2 separate regions of the Homo sapiens genome follow, and region 2 is linked to region 1. Evidence: promoter capture Hi-C in 16 types of primary human blood cells and fetal thymus (Javierre and others, 2016). All regions are on one chromosome and are shown on one strand. The core of a region is centred on a gene start or on the middle of the fragment in contact, and the rest is flanking DNA. Distances in the headings are between cores, read along the strand shown. Region 1 holds the start of CMTM2 (CKLF like MARVEL transmembrane domain containing 2). Region 2 overlaps NAE1 (NEDD8 activating enzyme E1 subunit 1).

Region 1 (2,748 bases), core at 100-2,599:
CAGGGGAATATCTGTGCCATCAGCCCCTGGTCCCCATCGGCTGACTCCGCTATCACTCCTTCTACTGCCAGGGGTTCCCACCCCCAGGTATCCATTTCTTACCTGGATGGCAGCATCCCACCCCACCACGCACTGGTCTTCCTGCCTCCAGCCTGGTTCACCTTCCATTCACCTCATGAACACTGCAAGCAGGTTTTCTGAATCTCACACCTGACCTCCTGATAGAGTCCCAGATCCTGCACCTCTCCAGCCTCAACTCTGCCCCCTTCTCAGCGGCTCTGGAGGTCCTGGCCACACCAGATTCCTTAGAGACCCTAGTCCAGTGCCTGGGTCCTCCTCCTCCCCTTAGGAACTCCTTCCTGCCCTTTGCAAACATAGCCCAAAAGTCTTTCCACGGAGAGGGCTTCTCAGGACCTAACCCCTACCTGCAGCCACCTAGGGCCACTGCCCTTCCCTAGTCCTTTCCGGGTGCCTCAGACATCAAGCGAGGCTACTACTGGCAACAAAATCCCCCACTTCCAAAATCCCTTTTTCTGGGAAAGGCAGAATCCGCCTGCAGCAGCCAATTGGGCAGGCGCCAAGAAAGTAGTGAAGGGTCAGAGGGGACAGGAGGCCACCCGCAGCGCCCACCCTGGATAGGGATAGGTTCGAGAGGTTGCTACTGAGCTGCAAAATAACCCCGTCTTTCCTTCCCGCATATGGTCTTGTATCTGACAGTCCCTGTGTCTCACAGCGGTAATCGTGTGTTGCATCGATGCGTTTGTGGTCACCACGAAGATGAGGACCAACTTGAAAAGATTCCTGGGAGTCGAAGTTGAAAGGAAGCTTTCCCCCGCCAAGGACGCCTACCCCGAAACCGGCCCCGACGCCCCGCAGAGGCCCGCCTGAAGCCAGCCCGGCGCCCTAGCAGATGCACGTGTCTGTCGAATCGCTGCCTCCGAGCCCACCCCCGAGCTCGCATGCTGTCACCCATTCCAGCCTAAATGTGACCATAAAATTAGGGCTGCTGCTTTTATCGAGAACACCTGCTTCCTCTCGTTGCCTTGTGTGAAAGTCGCGTTGTATTTTCCTGCGCTTGGCGCTGCGCCCGCGGAGCTCAGGGCCGTGACCCGGTGCTCGCAGCCCCCCGACCCCGCAGCGGAGCGGCGGCTTACAGACCTGGGGCCACCTGGAGACGCCGGGATGGGACCGCGAGGGCAGCTCCGCGCGGAGGTGGGACCGGCGGGTTGGGAACGGAGTTGGGGCCCGTCGGGGGCCGGCGCGTGGAGGGTGGGAGGATCCGGCCGCTGCCGGGCGGATGGGAGCTGCGCGAGGAGACGGGCGCGCGTGGAGAGGGCGCGGGAGTTGGCATTCGGTGGTCCTGGCAGTTAGCTGAGCACGCCCTCTGAGCCGCTCGGTGGACACCAGGCACTCTAGTAGGCCTGGCCTACCCAGAAACAGCAGGAGAGAGAAGAAACAGGCCAGCTGTGAGAAGCCAAGGACACCGAGTCAGTCATGGCACCTAAGGCGGCAAAGGGGGCCAAGCCAGAGCCAGCACCAGCTCCACCTCCACCCGGGGCCAAACCCGAGGAAGACAAGAAGGACGGTAAGGAGCCATCGGACAAACCTCAAAAGGCGGTGCAGGACCATAAGGAGCCATCGGACAAACCTCAAAAGGCGGTGCAGCCCAAGCACGAAGTGGGCACGAGGAGGGGGTGTCGCCGCTACCGGTGGGAATTAAAAGACAGCAATAAAGAGTTCTGGCTCTTGGGGCACGCTGAGATCAAGATTCGGAGTTTGGTGAGCTAAACTGGTATCCCTGGGTGGGGGGCCTTGGCCGAGGGTGGGGGGAAGGAGGAGTAGGCTCCAGGGGTCCTCAGAGAGATGGTGAAAGGCCCTTGCTGCTGGCTCAGGTGTCTATGTCTCACTGCAGGGCTGCCTAATAGCTGCAATGATACTGTTGTCCTCACTCACCGTGCACCCCATCTTGAGGCTTATCATCACCATGGAGATATCCTTCTTCAGCTTCTTCATCTTACTGTACAGCTTTGCCATTCATAGATACATACCCTTCATCCTGTGGCCCATTTCTGTAAGTAAGGGGTGATGGGGAGTGCCTGCATCCAGAATGCTGATCAGGTGTGTCTTGGCACCTGGAAAGTCACCAAACAGAGAGACACACCTCACCTCCCATATCTGTGCCTGGGTCAGGGACTCAGAACATCAGTGGGGCCCAGGCAGAGGCAGCTGGGTGCAAGAGGGGTAGCTAGGCAGAAAATGCTCCAAAAAGCCTATCTGTGTGTTGGAGTGAGAGTGGGGAACTCTTACTTACCTGGTGGTCAAAGAGGGCCTGAGCCTTTGTTCTCTTTAGGGGAAGGGGAGGTGTAGCAACCAGCTGTTCCTCCGAACTCCTGTGCCAGCTCACACTTGACAGGAGATCACCCCAGAAGGACCCCATTCCCAAAATTCAAAGAAGAAAATTACTCTCCCATAAGTCAATAAAATAAAACAAAATGGGAATTTTTTTTAAAAATCACTTCTAAAGCAGCGTTAGGTCTCCAGTGAATATCCCTATAAAGGATGTTTGGATCAGAAGGATGTTCAGCCCAAAGCAGTCATCTAGTGGAAAGAGACAGAACTGGGCAAGTTACTAAACCATTCCCAGCCTGTTTCCTCATCTGTAACATGAGACAGTCACATTCCTTGCAGAACTGACATTCAATCCTGAGGATTAAATGTAAATTGCTTGACACCGTGCCTGAGGACTCA
Region 2 (2,748 bases), core at 116-2,615, 230 kb after region 1:
GGAAAATGACAGAAAAAAGTTTTCTTCTATACATATTCAACCAACATCCCCCTGTAATAGTTTAGAATCGAACACTATTTTGCAAATAGTTAAACTTAAAAAACAAAAGGTGGTTCTTCACTGGGGAACGTTTGGGGTGTAATCTGTTTACAATGTGAAATTCAAGCAACACTATTATAAATACCCTGAGAACACTTTCAATTTAAATGTTTTATTGAAGATCTTATTATATCTGGTAATTCAATTGCTATTCTTACCTGGATATCTACCCTGTTGTTTATGAAATCTATCAACAGCCCGTAACATTAAGTACAACACTATTTCATTATCTGGATTGTCCATGCTAGAAACTGAAAGGAAAAAAAATTTCAGTTTAATTTGGTTAATTTGCAATGTAACAAACAATGAAGGGCTGAATTTACTATATACTTGAGTTTCAGGACTATTAACTGGAGTCACACAATCTCTACTGAAGTAGTAACATACTGACTTTAACTCATACATATCACACAATGGACTCAGTGACCTAAATATGACTTTATGCATACATTAAGTTTCATATAATATATAAATTATAATTACCTAGATAAGCTTAGAATAAAATTAGAATATGTTTACGTTATCTTTAATATCATCACCATATACTCAACACTATTATACACAAAATATTTATATCTTTTAAATTAATTAAAATTAACCCAGAATCAGAAGGCTATTATACTTACTAATTTCATCCTTGTTAATTGTATCCAAACCATATTCTTCAGCTAAGGATCGACATCTTACCACTCGAAGAAATGCAGAATTGCTGCCTGAACAGAGGAAAGATATTCTGGAAGTAATGACTGTGACTGGTGAATATTATGAATCACAGGTGACTTTAAGAACAGAGAATTATGTGTATACCCTTCTCAGACATGAGAATGTGAAGAAATGTTTTCTCCTTGGTTCTAATAGCAGAGAAAGCACTAGAACATGAATCACCTTAAATTTATATCCCTGGCACTACAACCAGTTCAGAAGCAAGTAAGGTGATGGCCTCTCTGAACCTCAGTTTTCAAGTGTAAAATGGGGATGATACTGTTTACCTTTGAGAATTGTTCTACAGATTAAATGTGACATCTGTATAAAGTGCATCTCTAGCACAATGCCTGATATGGCTCTAAAAATAATAGTTTTCATCATTATTATGGATAAGTAGTCCTAAAGGAGAGAGGTTTATGAATTGTACTCTTGATATATGTAATGACTTTAAGCTTTGTATTATTGAAATTTTCAAAAACGCCCCAAAGTAGAACAGAATAATAAATGTTCAAATACCCAGCATCAAACTTGTGATCTAGTATTATATAATCTAATACAACAAACGCTAATTCAAGATTAGTCTAATAGAACAAACAAGGTGCAAGATTAGTAGTGGCAGAAAACATTAAAACCGAGCCTAAACAGACATTGTGGAGAAGTCATAAAATGGAAAGCTTGGATAAATCTATTTTAAGGATGGGGAGCATGCAAAATATAAACTTCCACAGGACGTAGGAGCAGTAGCTACAGGGAGAAATCTTCAGATGGCATGCACAACAGATTGGGTATTTTGAAACTGACTCTTAAATAAAAGAAAATGCTTTTGGCCTACTGAGGAGTTACTGAGAAGACTCCTACGAACCTAACCACTCCGAAACTAGATGGCAAAATTCTTAACTCCATTACAGTCATTTAACACAGATCAAAATGAGTATTTAAACCAATATTGTCAATGTACATGTGACTCAAGACTTCACACCCAAAGTCTTCAGACAAAAAAACTTCCTAAATTACTTAAAATTTAAAAACTGAAAATCCTGTATTAATGGCAATTTTCAATTAACTGACCGTCAAGCCTTTTTAGCATTGCCACAGATAAACATGTTCTACCTCTGATTCAGTCTTAAAATACTCGCCATGTATTGTATTATGAGAGGAAAAAAAAAACCTTACCCAATAATTATCTATATCTATATCACTGAGGCCATGGAAAACTTAAAATTTCAACCATTCAAAATACCTGGGAACATTCCCTGTGGCACATTTCTATCAAGCAAAATAAGGAAATTAATTCAAGGGGACTTACAGAGTAATTTTAATTCTTTCTCTGAAATGGACTCTGGTGCCTGTAAAGAGATAAATACAGATTCTGTTCCAGTTTAAAAGAGAAGATTAACAAAGGGTGCGGCACAAAGCCAATCACTGTGAGATGGGAAGGCTTTCTCCAAGAGCTGGGAGAGCACTTTAAAAATATCTTGTTTCCTTATCACAAGCTATCCCATTAGGCAGGGAAATGACAGCTCCCTCTAAAGAAGCACAGAGGCAGTGCCACACCCTCTGTCTCTAAACCCTTTCTGGCTGGAGTTACGTGCTGAGGCCTGTATGGGCACAGTGTGCCCAGTAGCTTACCTGGCCAATGGACTGCAGCAATTTGGCAACATGATTACCCACAGCGGCAGCATCTTTCTTTGCTTTTTCACGGTAACTAAAAAAGAATAAAAAGCAATTACTAACAAATTTTTAAATTAGCAAAATTTAAATTGTTACCATGAACAAAAATTTTCTTTCCTTTTCATGAAAAAACACAGGTCTGACAATGTATGAAATGTGAAAATGCCAGGGAAATGCTATCAACAGCACCATGAGTAGCTGGGAATCTTTCCAGTGTTAGTGACGGACTCTCAGTGCCCACTAAAACCCAGGGTCCCTCTAACAGCACCCAAC

Evidence for each region. The method cuts DNA at HindIII sites, captures the fragments that hold promoters and counts their contacts. A CHiCAGO score of 5 or more calls a contact.
Region 2: a fragment that was not itself captured here is called in contact with the fragment with the promoter of CMTM2 in region 1 in 1 of 17 cell types (activated CD4 T cells); the score reaches 6.0 in activated CD4 T cells.

What each region holds. Positions count from the first base shown.
Region 1 is chr16:66,578,114-66,580,861 of GRCh38, forward strand. CMTM2 (CKLF like MARVEL transmembrane domain containing 2) reads left to right here and starts at 1,350. Exons shown (of 4, transcript NM_144673.3): 1 at 1,350-1,779; 2 at 1,913-2,071. The coding sequence starts at 1,495. It overlaps CKLF-CMTM1 (CKLF-CMTM1 readthrough), which reads left to right. Exons shown (of 4, transcript NM_001204099.2): 4 at 718-1,022. The coding sequence ends at 888. It overlaps CMTM1 (CKLF like MARVEL transmembrane domain containing 1), which reads left to right. Exons shown (of 4, transcript NM_052999.4): 4 at 718-1,022. The coding sequence ends at 888. The HindIII fragment of the contact is 2,154 bases long and covers 824-2,748 here.
Region 2 is chr16:66,808,264-66,811,011 of GRCh38, forward strand. It overlaps NAE1 (NEDD8 activating enzyme E1 subunit 1), which reads right to left. Exons shown (of 20, transcript NM_003905.4): 14 at 2,434-2,509; 15 at 2,111-2,150; 16 at 726-812; 17 at 258-350. Among named protein-coding and RNA genes, the nearest start is that of TERB1, 8.1 kb to the left of the region's middle. The HindIII fragment of the contact is 222 bases long and covers 1,255-1,476 here.